Regions from separate parts of the Homo sapiens genome. Here all the other regions are linked to region 1. Evidence: promoter capture Hi-C in 16 types of primary human blood cells and fetal thymus (Javierre and others, 2016). All regions are on one chromosome and are shown on one strand. Each heading gives the region's core, a stretch centred on a gene start or on the middle of the fragment in contact. The rest is flanking DNA. Distances are from core to core; before and after follow the strand shown.

Region 1 (5,170 bases), core at 1,619-4,118:
GACCTCGTGATCCACCCACCTCAGCCTCCCAAAGTGCTGGGATTACAGGCGTGAGCCACCGCGCCCGGCCCATTTGATAACATTTTATGTTTTGTAGGGTGTGACTCCACAGGCCCCTTAGATAGGAATTCGGGGAGGAGGGGAAAAATGTCAGAGTTAAGTCCTCAGTATCATCTCCTTTAAGGTGTTTCCACAGTTCAAACAGTACCTTGTCAAAAGAAAGAAGAGACCAGGATAGACTACGAAAGAATTAGATTTACACAGTGAAGTTACTCACTGGAAACACTGTGTATGGGTGTGGTATTAGATTGTGAAGTCAGGCTGGGTGTGGTGGCTCACACCTGCAATCCCAGCATTTTGGGAGGCTGAGGCAGAAGGATCACCAGAGCCCAGAGTTTGAGGCCAGCCTGGGCAATACAGTGAGCCCTCATCTCTATATATTAAAAAAAAAACAACAACTGCAAAGTCAATGCATAAGACAAAAATCCATTTAGGCTCAGCCATAAAAAGGAATGAAGTAATGATTCATGTTACAACATGGATGAACCTTTAAAATATATTGATGAGTGAAGTAATATGTGTACAAAGGCCACATATTGTATAATTTCACTTATATGAAATGTCCAGAATAGGTAAATCTACACAGACAGAAAGTAGATTAGTGATTGCCAGGAGTTGGAGGGCATGGCAGGGTGCAGAATGATAAAAGCCTGTACAAGCCTTCTTTTTGGGATGAACATGTTCTGGAATTAGATAGTAGTAATGGTTGCACAACTTTTGGAATAAACTGAAAACCAATGAATTGTACACTCATCTGAAGGGGTAAATATTATGGCATGTGAATTATATCTCAGAAAAATCTATTTTGGCTAAATTACCATTGAAAGTCCTTTTCAAAGAGTCTAATTCAGCTGTTTTTACTTTCAGCATAAAAATAAATGGCCTTTGAAACTTTTTAGAGTACTAGATAAATAGTATGTTTGCATTTGGGAGTCCTGTTATAAAAAATGTATCTTATAACTTGAGTCACACTAAATTATGTGAGATTCTCACATTATAAAGGGTAAGGAAGTGAATCAGAAGCATTGAAAAGGGATTGTGTGTAACATGTTATCTCTTGCAAAAGGAAATTAAATTTTGGGACCCCAAACTGATTTAGCCAAAGGGAAAAGTCACGCTGGGACTGGTCACGCAAATCTGCCTCCCCCTTTTGGTTCCTAAATAAGATTGCTGCAAGATGAAAAGCTACATCTCTCCCCCGTATTTTGCCCACAAGGAAATTCTTAGTGTGCTGTTAAAACTTCATGGCAATGCAAATTGATAGCTTATCTTTACAGGTGGCCACCCCAGCCCGCCAGACACAAATGCCTATCTGATTGTTCCCCTACCCCATTTTGTCTGTTATCTTATGAAAAATGCAGACTCCCACATTCTTCCTCTGCCCATTTTATGTCATCTTATGTAAAAAATGCAGATTCACTGAGCCAGAGAAAGGCAAGAATTACTATTTTCTCCTACCGCCCCCTTACATGAAAACGGTGTGCTTCTCAATATCCCGCCCTTTCCCCTTTAAATTTGGAGCACTCAAAATCATCTTCGAAGAAAGGCATAGACCTGTTTCCTGGGCTCGTACTTAACTTCGGCAAATAAATCTCCTAAAGTGATGGACTCTCTTATAAATTAATCTGTAGCCAAGGCATGTCATCAATATGTCCTACTGTGCCTTCCTACCTCCCATTTATCAACTTACATGAGAAGCACACATCTTACTTGTCATAAATTATTACCTTAGTGAAAACCTGAGGGTGTCAAGAAGTCGAAAAATTTGAGACATTGACGTTGGGGAAGACACCTTTAATTAGAGCACCATAAAATCATGATAGAATGATACATTTTTCCTTGCCTTATATTTTTGGCATGCAAAACAGAAGGAGCTCAAACAATTGAGTGACACATTAGTAAAATTCCTTTCATTCATTTCTACTTACAAGGCACACACCATTGACCTCACCCCGTCCCCCCCTTTAAAACAATATTTGACCCGCGCCCCCCCCCCTTTAAAGCAATCTTTGAAAAGTTAGGAATGAAAGCCGGTTCAGGACAGTACACAGTACACAAATACTGGCTTCCCCTACCTCCACCACAAGCAAGTAAACATCCTAGCACAGTGTAAAAAGGAAGAGGCTGAGGACGAACCACGCGGACATTTGCAGGCACACCCCTTCCCTGCGACCAACAAAAATGCAGTAGCGCAATTACACTTGAAGGAATTGCAGCACTCACAAAAGCACACATTCTGTTCAATGGTTGAGTCCACATAAAGTGACAGTCCGTTTCTAAAAGCATGGCTGTATTTAAAGGACACATGGTCTGTTCAGGTCCGCTTCAGCGAAACCCCAAGCACTTCCGAGAGATCCACTCCCTCTCTCCGAGCAGGTGCCACTAGCTGCTCCGCCGGCGAGCGTAGGAAGCAGCGCGACCAACCAAATCGGTTGCCCACAACAGCCAGGGACGTCAAAAAGGCCAAACTGCGTGGGAAGCGAGCGTGCGCCTCCATCACCACGACAGCACCCGTCTCGAGGCTCCACCTGCCGCTAGTAGGTGGCTCTCAGCTCTGCTCTGCTAAGGGCGAGCTTGAGAACCCGGCCTACAGTTGTGCACCTCCCCCCGCCCCCGCCCCCGCCCCCGCCCCCGCCCACCGCACTTGTAGCCCCGCCCCGCCCAGGGAGCTTCCGTCACAACACTTCCGGCTCCAGCCTCCCAACCGGCCTCCGTCGTTTTTCACTTCCCTCTCCTCAGCTCTCTTCCCTTGCCCCTACCGTCTCCTTTAACACAGTCACGTGAGGGACGCGCGCGGGGGCAGCTGGGAGTAGTACTGCCGGTTGGTCAGGGTTCGGCCTCAACATGGCGGTTCCGGCCGGGCAGTGACCAAGGTTTTGCCGTCCGAAGGACTAAGTGGTGACTGTCGGCGTCTCCACCTATCGGGGTGGAATGCGAGCACGCGGGGACGAGCGCTGAGAAGCGGCGGTGACGGGAAGGGGGGGGTCAGTGGATTGTGCCCCAGAAACCGAAGCGGCGGCGTCTGTTCCTTCTTGTTTCTAGGCTCCAGTGCGTTCGGGGCCCCGCCCGGCCGGGCCAGGCCGGCGGGCGGCGGCGGTAGCTGCTGCAGCCGCAGGATAACCTCGCAGGGTGGGCCGGAGGGCGGGCGCCGCCGCTGCCTGTGCTGCGGCGATGGCCCAGTGTGTACAATCAGTGCAGGAGCTAATCCCGGACTCCTTCGTCCCCTGTGTCGCTGCGCTGTGCAGCGACGAAGCCGAGCGGCTCACTCGTCTCAATCACCTCAGCTTCGCGGAGCTGCTTAAGCCCTTCTCCCGCCTCACTTCCGAGGGTATGTGGTATCCTCCCTTTTCCAGTGGGCTCCCGCAAAGCCGTGGTCGGGAGAAGGAAGTTGCGGGCGGGCAGGGAAGAGAAGGGCAGTGTTTACGTCCTGGAGCCGGTACCGTGGCGTCTGGGGCTGTGGCCCCGCGGTGCTCCGGGGGCGGCTGGAGGAGGGACCGTGAGGTTGTCAAGACAGCGCAGTCCTAAGCTCCAGTTTCTCTGGGCACTTCCTTTCTTCCTCGGACAACCTAGGTCGTTAAGTAATTGGTGCAAAGATAAACGTGAGTCTTCGAGAACGGCATTGAGACTGTTCTCCACGGCCATAGCGAAGGAATTAGGCACTTGCAAAGCAGCTAAGGTAGGAAAATGCTGCCTCTTAGACCGACAGGGTCTGAGTAAGGAAGACCTGTCATCCTCCCTTGGATGTTAAACTGGACTTTGAAAGTAGTTGTGGATGTTATTACATTCTTGTAGCGTTGAGGGTCATCTCTGTCTGAACTACCGTGTAGCTGTTTTACTAATATATTCTTAGCTATACGGTATTTTGCTTAACCTCTCAAGAAAATTAAAAGTATTATAAGAAGAATAAAACTTGAAGCAGCTTTTTGCCCTAAGGAAGAGGAAGCAAGCCCAAGTTGTGGTTAATTTAACCTGGATATTTGGAGTTATCTATAGTTATAGGGATGGAAATGTCTTCTCTTGTTAATGAATGTCTTGTTAAGAAGCTACCCGTTTTCTCCAGTTTTGGATTTTTTTATTAGGAGAAAATAATGTGGTAAAGCTTCAAGCATGTTTTAGCCAATATCTTGCAAACAACAAAGTCCAAGTAAAGTTTTTTTTGTTAAGGTCGGTAAGAACTGAAGGGTTTCATAATAAGCCTGTGTCAGGCAAACGACTGTGATGTTTGTTAGCTTAATATGACTTATCCACAAAAAAAATCAGTGCTGTACCATTTTTGCGCTACCATGTTTTTTGGGAGAATAGTTCCATTATAAATTAGCTTTTGTTTTTAGCGGAGAGAGGGAGCTGTCCAAAAAAACAAAGTTTGGAAACTTTTGGATTTTCTTTAGCCTGTATCGTAGCCATCAGTCTCAGTTCCTTCAGTGTTGGACTTAAGAGCAACAAAATGCCCTACGTTTTTTATTTTTTTGTTATTTATTTATTTATTTATTTTGAGATGGAGTTTCGCTCTTGTTGCCCAGACTGGAGTGCAGTGGCGCGATCTCAGCCCACCGCCACCTCCGCCTCCCAGGTTCAAGCGATTCTCCTGCCTCAGCCTTCTGAGTAACTGAGATTACAGGCATGCGCCACCATACTCGGATAATTTTTGTATTTTTAGTAGAGACAGGGTTTCTCCATGTTGGTCAGGTTGGTCTCGAACTCCCGACCTCAGGTGATCTGCCCGCCTCGGCCTCGCAAAGTGCGGGGATTATGGGCGTGAGCCACCGCGCCCGGCCTTGAATTCCTAAAAAAACACAAACACTTGAGCTAGTTTTACTTTTATATGTGTACTCTTTCCTTCTTTCTTAATAAATAATAATAATGCTAATACCTGATACTTGCTTTGTGTAACTTTTCTTTTTTAGTCCTCATTGAATCCTGTTATTGCAATTTTAAATTTGAGGACCTTGAAGCATAGAAGTGTTAATTTGTTCACAGTTTTGCGTCTGGGAAAGATTTGAAACAGGCAGTGTGACTCAAGACATTGTGTTCTTAATCATCTTATCTCCTGACAGTATTTAGAATTATGTATTTACACCATAGAGCAGTGCTGTCTAATTGAAATATAATG
Region 2 (5,170 bases), core at 1,584-4,083, 280 kb after region 1:
TTACATGGGTATATTGCATGATGCAGAGGTTTGGAGTATGATTGATCCTGCCACCTAGGTAGTGAGCATAGTACCCAATAGGTAGTTTTAAACTTCTGCCCCGCTTTGTCCCTCCCTCTTGTAGTAGTCCCCAGTTTCTGTTGCTGGCCATCTTTTGTTCATGAGTACCCAGTGTCTAGCTCCCACTTACAAGTGAGAACATGCGGTATTTGGTTTTCTGTGCCTGTGTTAATTCGCTAGGATAATGGCCTGCAGCTGCATCCATGTTGTTGCAAAGCATATGATTTTGTTCTTTTTTATGACTGTGTTCTTCATTCTTTTTTTTTTTTTTTGAGATGGAGTCTTGCTCCCTCGCCCAGGCTGGAGTGCAGTGGCGCAGTCTCGGCTCACTGCAACCTCTGTCTCCAGGGTTCAAGCCATTCTCCTGCCTCAGCCTCCTGAGTAGCTGGGGTTACAGGCTTGCACCACCATGTCCAGCTGATTTTTTTGTATTTTTAGTAGAGATGGGGTTTCACCATGTTGGCCAGGATGGTCTCGATCTGTTGACCTCATGATCCAACCGCCTCGGCCTCCCAGGAATTACAGGCGTGAGTCTTCATTCTTTTAAAGTCCACTTAAGTACAAAAATGTAGTCAAAATGTGTTGTATTTGTAAACTAGTATAGTAAATTCAGGTGTAGGCAAGTTAAATCTAATTATAAGACTACTTTCTAGAAAGCCTGTAGACATGCTTTTAAAAAAGGTATCTGTAAAGCTTATGTGAAACCTGGATTTCTGTTTGTCTCTTTTTTCTGGAGGTGAAAGAAAAGTTTTATTTTACTCTGCTTTTCTAGTAGTTTAATTTATGCTCTCTTCATATGTACTTTGAGCAAGTTCACATTTACATAAAAAGTGGGAAAGAAGGTAGTAAACATTAAATTTCTCTCATCCCTCTATTCCATCTTGAGAAACTGGAGCAGCACTTAGAAAATTAGTCAGCATTCCTAATTTTTTTCATTCAGCATTCATCTTTGGAGAGTGTCATTACTGTATTCAGAGACAGCTTATCTTAAAATTGAGTCATTCACTGAGGCTTGCAGTTTCTTGGTTTTTGCCATGATAGTGAGCCTCTGCCTCTCATCTGAATGGAGTTTATGATTTTTTAGCTTTGTGTTTAGAGACTTTAAAGAAGAATGCACTACTTGCACACCTGCCTTGTGAAAACGAGGAAACTGAGATCCAAGGAGCTGTACAAAGTTATGCACAGCACTAACAGAATTGGGACCAGGAAAGGAGTTTCTGACTTAGTTCTGTGCCTCTGGGGAGTCTGGACATCTCAAAAGTTAGGGATTTTTGCGATAAAGCTTTGTCAATTTACCAGTTTCTCCCAGCAGAAGAAATTTGGGTCCTATTTTTGAAGCACTTATTGTGAATAATTAAATTGAGCTGCTTTAAAAATACACATTGATTTTGATTTTATTTGCTTTTACCATCCTGGTAGAAAGATTTGTGATTGAAAGGGAGTGTAAAAGTTTAATTAACTCTTAGAAATGACCCAAACAGATACTGATCCTAGATCACCCCTCCCCGCAAACACATCAAGAATTTTCAGGACCATTGCAAGATCTTTATTCCTACTAGATATTATGGGATTTATAAGGAATCCTAGCTTTTGTGAAGTTTTTGGTAGGAAATTAATATATAATTAGAGAAACTGAATTTTGTAACTGTAGGATTGAGCATCTGTAATAAAATGCCTTTTTGAAATTTCTAAGTATATTTTATAGTAGAAAATCACAGATGTGGGGGTTCATTATAATATTTTAGTTTGTTCAGTTAGTTTCATTCTATTTGATAGGTGGGTATTTCAACTTTTTTTTTGTTTTTATTCTTAAAAAATCAGTTTGTTTTTGTCAGTTTTTATAGTAGGCAATATTTTATATTTCTGTTTTGCGTTTGGACGTGCTGATTGAGTCAGTTTATGTTTATTGGGCACTTCCCCAATTCTGAATATTATTTTATTAAATAAAAAAAAGCTTACTGTGTTATGACATTCTTTCTCTATTTTTCTTTTATAGCCAACACATATCTCTTTATGGTACAAGCTCGAGGTATAATGTTGAGAGAAAATGTGAAAACAATAGGTCATATGATCAGGCTGTACACAAATAAAAACAGTACGCTCAACGGTACAGGTAAGACTACTTCCTGCTTAACCCCTTGTAGTTACAAAGCAGTAAACCAAATCTTTTACAGTCTGTTTTGCCTTCAGGTAACTTCCTGTTAAAGATGAAGAAGGTATCTTCCCCTAAGCGTCCTGGTAGATTATTTTACTGTGCAAATCAAGACTGTTACCTATTTTAGGATGTATGAACGTGTGGTCACAAAAGTGATGAGGTTTTGTACAGACACTTAAGTTAATTCTTGTAAACAAAATATAGAAAGCAGCTTCTACTTTTTCAATTCGTATGTTGTATTTAAGAGAAATTAACCAGAGAATAATTTATTCATCTTAGTAAGCCATACTACCATCTCTCTTTATGTTCATTCTAGTTCCTAAGTTGTTCTTCCAACTAGGTCTAGAAAATAGTTGTTTTTAATTATAGAAGATTGTTAATAGTGTTATGGCCTTTTTAAGGAGCTAAAGGAGAAATTTTATAAAATTGGAAATTGGTAGCTACTCCTTTTTATTTTACTTATTTATTTTTTTAGACAGAGTCTCGCTCTGTTGCCCAGGCTGGAGTGCAGTGGCGCAATCTTGGCTCACTGCAAGCTCCATCTACCAGGTTCACGCCATTCTCACGCCTCAGTCTCCCAAGTAGCTGGGATTACAGGCGCCCATCACCACGCCCGGCTAATTTTTTTTTAAATTTTTGATAGAGACGGGGTTTCACCATGTTAGCCAAGATGGTCTCAATCTCTTGACCTCGTGATACGCCCGCTTCAGCCTCCGAAAGTGCTGGGATTACAGGCATGAGCCACTGTGCCCGGCCTACTCTTGTCTTTTTAAAATGTTACCTGGAAGTAGAAGCTCCATTAGAATTCCAGGAGGTTAAAATCTAATAGGCTGAACCAATAATTTAATGATGGTAGAATTGATGTAAATAGATTTCACTATTGTGGAAGAATGTGAATGCTCGTTTATGGCAGGGTTGCCACAGTGTCTGCCAGGGTATTATTAGGTGTTACTTTAAAGGATTCAGTGGGGTTGTCAGTTGTTGTACCCTTTATGGTCTCATTTTGAACAGTTAAAAATAAAGATTTAATTTGTGTTAGTAATTCTTCCTTGTGTCACTGTAAACCTACACATTCTACTAAGAGAAAGTCTGTCTTTCAGCTGTAGATGTTCTTTCTTAAATGTATGTCAAGGTGGGTGATAGTTTTAGACCCTTCTAAAAATTCAAGACTGTGACATATTGATCTCAATTTAATATCACATGTGCTTCTATAAAATCCATTCTAGTCATTTGCCTAATATGTTTATGATGCCACAAATCAAAACACTCTTGTTTTATTTTAATTTTTTAACCTTGAAGGAATTTTTTTAGAAGAACTGCCTCAGCATAGTTGATGTTTTAATTCTACAGTAAAAGTCTCATTAACTATTCTTTAGCATGAATGAGTCTTCTGAATAGTAGGTCAATTTTAGAAGTTTAAACATTTTAAAAGCTTCTGTAGGATTTGTGCTGGTTGAATAAGTTGATTGTAAAAATGTTCACTGAAAGTTTGTTCAACTGAAAGGAAATAGACATCTTTAAATTGGTGTATTTGTGTGAGTGCTAAAAATTTGTGCATATCAGCTTGTTTTCCCTGGGGTATGAATAAGGTATATGTGTGGATGTTGAGCTTGATTAGGAGGAATGATTACATGGGCAAGACAATCTTTCCCCATAGTATCCTGCAACCAAAAAAAAAAAAAAAGGAAAATCCTTTCCTCCTCTCACCAAGTCATAGTTTCAATAAAGACCAAAGAACCAATGCATACTTAGATTAAAGTTTGCTTACTTTTATGAAACTTTGAAAACTTTTCATAGGGTTCCTTTACTAATGGTAAAACTGTTCTCAGGAAACAGTCATTGTATACATTAGGGATTAGGTTTGGATGTAACAGAGACCTGCCTGTGGTGGTTTAAACACATGAGGCTTTCTGTTCTCATGTGAAAGAACTCTGCAAGTTGGATATCTGTGGCTGTTATGGAGGCTCCTTAAAGTAAGTCATCACACACTTTTCATTTTCTGCCATCTGTCATGTGGCTCCATGGTTAACTCATAGTCTAAGATGGCTGCTGTTTGAACTTGGGTCAGTAGGAAGGAGGAAAGCGAGAACAAAGAAGAACAAATAAGGTACCTCTTTTCTGGAGCCTTCCCAGAGGTCCCACACAGTATTTCTTCATACATTTAATTGGCTAGAACTTAATTGCATGGCCACATGCGATAACACTGGGAAATATAGTCTTGACCAGAGTATGCTGGAACTCTAGTGAAACTGGCATTCTGTTACCTACGGGGAAAGGGAAGAATGGAGTTTGAGTCAGCAATGAGGCTCCGCCATGTTCATTTAGCCAACATTTACGAATAATTATTATAGTTAGTATATTTAACCAGATATTGGAGACACAATATTAAGAAAAACAGTCTCCTTTAATATGAGGATCTCTAGGCCTCTGGGAGAGATGGAAACATGAATAGTTATTTATAATGCAACTGGTTATTTCTACATAGACTTCTATAGATACAATATCCAAAAAAGAAGATAATGGCCTATAAGGTGTACAAAAAGCTAACTGAGCTCTAGAGGGGAATTGATTAATATGCAGTGGCTCATTTATAATTTAACACTAAATGATAAATAGATTGTGATAGTTATAAGCACATTTGATTTCCAAAAGGGGTTTTTAATCCTATACCTGACTTTCTGTGGCATCAAATATAAATAGATGTATACTATTTTTGTAAATAAATTATATACTCTCATAATCAGATGGTGCCATGTAGCCCACAGAGCCAAATTATGAAAACAAGACGTATTCAGTGAATTCATCTAATTACTGAAGCAGATAAGGGCCATGCAATGTTAGAGTGGATAGGTTTGTTGGAAATAACCCAGCATGCCTCCTCATTTGATGGGTACATGAATTGAGGCCCCCAGACACTGCCAGACTGACAAGACAAGTTAGTGGGAAACAGACTAG
Region 3 (5,170 bases), core at 926-3,425, 260 kb after region 1:
GACTTCTTTGGCTTGCATAGATTTTGTTTTTCTTTATTTTACAAATGAGTTTCCTTTTAATGTTGTTCCACTTTGCATTTCAAATTTCCCTTAAGCATCTAAAAATGTTACAAAATAGTGTCATTACCTTTCAAATTAAACATCAAATTAGCCAGAGAAGTTGAGTTGTGAGTACTCCAACAAGCAAAATATTAAAAAATGAATTTCAACTTGGTGATCCCACCTAGTGAACTAATGGGATATAAGGAACCTCTTACGTCCCAGACACCATGCTTAGCATTATGCACAGTTATCCATTTAATCTCACAGCCTTGCAAGGGGGTATTATATCCACTGTTTGAGGGCGGAGAAAACAGGCTCACACAAAGTAGTAGCTTCCAGGGGTCTCACAGTTAATATTAATGAAAGGCTTGGGCTTATACATAGGTGTTTCAGGTTCCACATTGCAAAGCATTATCTCAGGGACGATCTATGGCATGCGCATCCCGATAAAAACGTACCAAATTTATTGGCTATCAACTACAGTTCCATCTGGAAATACTCAGCAAATAATGGCAGTAAGGCATCCCGCCACTTCCTGCATGATTAGTTGAAAAAGAAACACCTGCGCACACACATTTGAACAATGTGATACAGCTAAGGACCTGGACAGTCAGCTAGCAGGAAGAAACATTTGAACGAAGGGTAGACCACGGCCTAGGAGGTGGATGAAGACACCCGTCCGTTTGCCTACTGAAGCAAGATGGGGCTGAGGCGCTCAAGGGCCTATTGGCTGCCCAGAAGCCTTTGCAGCGCCGCCTGAATACAGCGAGGATGACCCAGGGTTCACCTTCAGCGTTGAAGGCAAGTCCTGGTATAAGGGACGCACATAGGTCCGCGCCACATCCTGACACTGTTTCCACAGGAAGTGCGGGATAGGAGGGGGGATTCATTAATCCAGGTCGGAAATACACCTTGTTCCTCGAGGATTTTGGAAGGAAATTCCACCCGCGAAGTCCCCTTTTGGAGATGCCCTTTTCCTTTCAGGTACAGCATCCTTCATTATGTACCCCCAGGGTACAATGTATCCGGGGCTCGCAACGCGTCCCTCAACCCCCAGCAGCGCGGTCACCGCGGGGTCCCCGGGCGGGCGGGGGCGGCGGTGACGCAGGAGGCGGTGGGGCCCCGGTGCGGCGGGCGCGGGGAGGGGGCTGCTGGGCGCGGGCCTATCAGGACGCGCGGTGTTTCGGGCGCGGGGAGGGCGGGGACCTCCAGGTTTCCTCGGGGCCCGGCGCAGCGCCGCCTGCCGAGTTCCGAGCGAGCGCGCGAAGCGCGCAGGGGTCTCGAGACGTTCCCGCCGGTCCCGGTTTTCCTCCGCGGCTCCCCCGCCCCTTCACGTCCGCCTCTTTCTCCAACCAGACGCGGCTCCGACGGCGCTCGGCCTCTGCTCTTCCGGCTCCCCGGCTCTGCCCGCAGCGCGCGTCGCCCGGTTGCTCTTCGCCTGGTGTCCGCGGGCCCGGCGGGGGCGCCTCACCCCGGGCGCGCGGCGGTAATGCCGCTGCCGCCCTTGCGGCCAGGCAGGCAGCTGGCGGCGGCCGGAGTCGGAGCGCGTTCGTCGCTGGCCGGGACGCCGCCCTGGCCTGTGCTCAGCTCCCGCGGCGGCCGCGGGGCGCCGGGGCCCGGCGCGGCATGAGGAGGCGGCTCGGTGCAGGCGAGCGCCCAGCTCCTCGGCCCCGAGGGCCCCCGCGGGCCCCCGCGCGTGGCGCGCGCTGGTTGCGGCCCCGGCGCCCACGCTAGCCCCGCGCAGGCAGGAGACGCCGCGGCCCGGAGTAGGAGGCGGCGCAGGGCCTGCCGAGCGGACGCGGGCGGCCCGGACCTTAAGCACGGGGCTTCGCGGCGGGACCCCGCCGGGCGCGGGCAGCGGAGCCGGGCGTGCTGCAGTTAGCTGCCCCTCTCCGCAGGGGCGCCGCGGCGCGCAGCCTGCGCCTCCTCCCACCTGCAGCCCCTCCTCCCGCCGCTGCTTGGCGGAGAAAACGCTCCTCCTCGCCCTTCCCCGGCTTTCTTCCGTCCTGCCGTCCCCGGGCCCCTAGCCCCCAGTCCCCTCTCCCCCCTCCACCTCTTGTCCCTCGGCCTCCGCGCCTCCCCTCCCCCGACTCTCTGGCCTCCCATTCATTCCGTCCGCTCCCTCCCATTTCCTCTTTTCCGCTCGGGCCCTCTCCCCAGAGCCTCCCCGCGCGGACCCCGCTGCAGTCTCGGGGTTCTCAGCACATTTATGGAAGTTTAGGGCCTGGACAGTGGCCCCGAGTCCGGCCTGAGAGCGCAGCCTGGGCTGCTGGCAGGGAAGAGGAAGATGTCTGTGCTCAGGCGGATGATGCGGGTTTCCAATCGCTCTCTCCTCGCCTTCATCTTCTTCTTCTCCCTCTCTTCGTCCTGTCTGTACTTCATCTATGTGGCCCCAGGCATCGGTAAGCACCGAGACACACCCTCGCTTCCCCTGGTCACACCACAGCCAGCGCAGGCTGTTATCCGATGTTACTTCTGGGATTTGGAAGCTGTTCAAACAGGGGCCCGCAGAAAAGCGTTTTGTTTTAAATGTTATTTCAGACGTGTCAAACTGCTTCAGGGCATGGCTTTGGTATGTGAGTTTTGTTAATGCATGCATTTTGTTAATGCATGTTTGTTAATAACGTAAAAGATTGCATTAAATAGACGTAGCAAAATTAGTGTGATGGCCCGGGATGCCCTAGTCGCTTTCTTGAGTGTTCATGACAGCTTTATCCATTTAATGTTAAGTCTTTAAGCCTAAACTGAGTGCTTAATCGTAGTTTTATTCAAACACTCTCGGGTATAATAACTGGTTGTAAAAATATGGAGGAGCCAGCAGCAGGGAATGTGATTGAGTCCAACAATGTGTGTTTTCTAGGGTCCTAGGTCGCTTTTTTAGAATGGGGTCAGTGGACCCCATTCTTTTTGTGCCATACTTGGGGAATTTTAAGGCGATGAGTTGTCTTGTAAAAACAATGCTCCATTATTTTAGTCTGCTTGGGTGTTATTTTCAAGGGTACGTTGCCTTTGCTACCTGTTAGGATGACTTCTGAGAAAATAGTGATTAAAATAACCGTTATCTAAGGGAACTTGTAGTTTAAAATGTTAACCGGTTTATCATTTTTTGGCCTTTGGTGCAAAATACACTTTTGTAAAACTGCTTGAATTAACTTCTTTATTAAATATCCGAATTCCTCGTCCCCCATTTGTTGAAAAGGAGCCAATGCGGCGTTAATTCTAGTGAATGAGAATTATGAACTTCACATGCATATTAAAATATGTCATATTTCCAAAACTTTTCTGAGTTTTTCCTGGCTATTACGTATTTAATGTTCAATTACTTAGTAACAGTGAGCATCTCCTCTCATTTCTCCTTACACACTGTGGTCGTTTGAGCCAGTGCTCTTTGTTCCGAGTTAGCTAAAAATGTAATGCCCCTTACAGAGTGAAAACACCTGCAGAATTTTCAGATGGAATGATCAGGGCATTGTCTTGAGTGTAGTAGATTATTGCAGTGAATTGCAGCAGGGAAGGAAGATGGAAACCTAATCCAGACTGCTTCATTTCTTAAAATTACTATGAGACTTTTTCTTTAATAATTAATTTTTGGATTCAGTGAGGTGTATAAACTCAGATGATGATGTTTAAGAAGAAATGCATTGTGAAACGTTGACGTATCCCAAAATAGAAGTTTTAGGGTAAAGTTTGAAGAATATTTTAACATTATTGCAGTTTTCCTTTAGGCCAGAAAAAACAAAAAACCTCACAAAAACCTACCCCTTGAAGCCTATAGTACAAATGACAGTGGTAGCTTAGTGGATTTGATATTATCTAGATACTCAACAAGAGCTTTCTTTATTTTTTGCCATTTTGGAGTCTTATAAATTAACTCTTCATTCTATAGCAATTTTTACTTTCTCATGTAACTCTTTAAAAGTTTGGACATCTTTGGGGTATGTTTTTTTACTAGGAATTTAACTTTGAAAGATTTTGGAGAAAGTTTTTTTCACACTTACATAACAATTTTCCCACTTTCTTAGTATTATGAGTAACATGTTAAAGTTATATTACTCAAAAAGCTAACCAAAGGAAATCAGAATTCTAGTCATCCCTTTTTTTTTAAAGTTAGTGCGTCAGTATATTATTTGTAGATTCTTAATTCAACTTGTGTGAAACACTAATAAATTTTCCTTATTTGAATGCTTAATGTTTGCCATAGAACGGTCACTGATATAATGTAAAAATGTTGGCACGTGTCTTGTAGGCAATTAGATTGATGTGGCTTAACCTACTCTGTTTTTGTAGGTCTTATAAATGATAATAAGTTATTAAAACCAGTTAGAAGAGTGCAAACCAAAAACTTACAAAATGCTGTGAAATTGTCAAGCTGAATCTGTTTCCAAAACCCTGTACCATTTAGCCAAAAAAAGCCTCCTTTTTAATCTTTTGTATCTTTAAGTATTGGGAAGCAGTTTTCCAAAATTCAGATTTTCGCTTGAAAGTTTGAATTTTATCATTGGCAACAAATACTGTCAGTTTTTCTTGAAGTGTCAGGCTCACTTTGCTCATTTTCGAGAAAATGTAGGTCAGATGCACAAGTTTAACCATAGTTTTTCAGTTGTTCTTTCAAGTAAAAATGATGTTCCATGAAAAATGTGGCTTGTTGAGTCCATACTGCAGCAATCAATCAATTGCACAAGTGCTTCAGATTTCTTATTTATGAGACATATCCAGAAGTAATTAGGTTCTTATAACTAGTTTTTATTCGATGTATGTGGATTTTTCTTGAAATAATAACTTCAAGAAAATAATTCATATTTTAGCCTGAATTACATCTTGGGGCAAAATGTGTTTATGACTAAAATGTATGTTGTAAGTACTTTTTATGTGCCCTAAAAAGCGTTTCAAATCTCCTCTGTTAAGAAATTCCTATTAATCCTACCATATCAACCTGTTTGGTAAACTTTAATTCTCTTTCCCTACTTGTTTTCTGTCCTGAGCCCTGTGTATGTCATGGGCTTTCTTCCCAGGTAGATCTTCTGTCATTTTAGTTCCTCTTCTTTGCCATCTTGAGCAGATACATCACACAGTTGTAGGCAGCGTAATCTGTTTAGTTTCCAGTGTTTTCAGATGTTCCTCTGAAATA

What was found. The method cuts DNA at HindIII sites, captures the fragments that hold promoters and counts their contacts. A CHiCAGO score of 5 or more calls a contact.
Region 2: a contact is called between a fragment that was not itself captured here and the fragment with the promoter of TRAPPC8 in region 1, in 1 of 17 cell types (fetal thymus). The highest score is 5.3, in fetal thymus.
Region 3: a contact is called between the fragment with the promoter of B4GALT6 here and the fragment with the promoter of TRAPPC8 in region 1, in 1 of 17 cell types (fetal thymus). The highest score is 5.1, in fetal thymus.

The regions. Positions count from the first base shown.
Region 1 is chr18:31,940,826-31,945,995 of GRCh38, reverse strand. TRAPPC8 (trafficking protein particle complex subunit 8) reads left to right here and starts at 2,868. Exons shown (of 29, transcript NM_014939.5): 1 at 2,868-3,388. The coding sequence starts at 3,232. RefSeq lists enhancers at 2,884-3,093, 3,195-3,973 and a silencer at 3,144-3,263. The HindIII fragment of the contact is 12,839 bases long and covers 1-4,161 here.
Region 2 is chr18:31,663,259-31,668,428 of GRCh38, reverse strand. B4GALT6 (beta-1,4-galactosyltransferase 6) reads left to right here. Exons shown (of 9, transcript NM_004775.5): 2 at 2,057-2,173. Among named protein-coding and RNA genes, the nearest start is that of B4GALT6, 19 kb to the left of the region's middle. The HindIII fragment of the contact is 1,633 bases long and covers 2,017-3,649 here.
Region 3 is chr18:31,681,586-31,686,755 of GRCh38, reverse strand. It overlaps B4GALT6 (beta-1,4-galactosyltransferase 6), which reads left to right and starts at 2,175. Exons shown (of 9, transcript NM_004775.5): 1 at 2,175-2,444. The coding sequence starts at 2,330. RefSeq lists a silencer at 1,039-2,078. The HindIII fragment of the contact is 10,803 bases long and covers 1-5,170 here.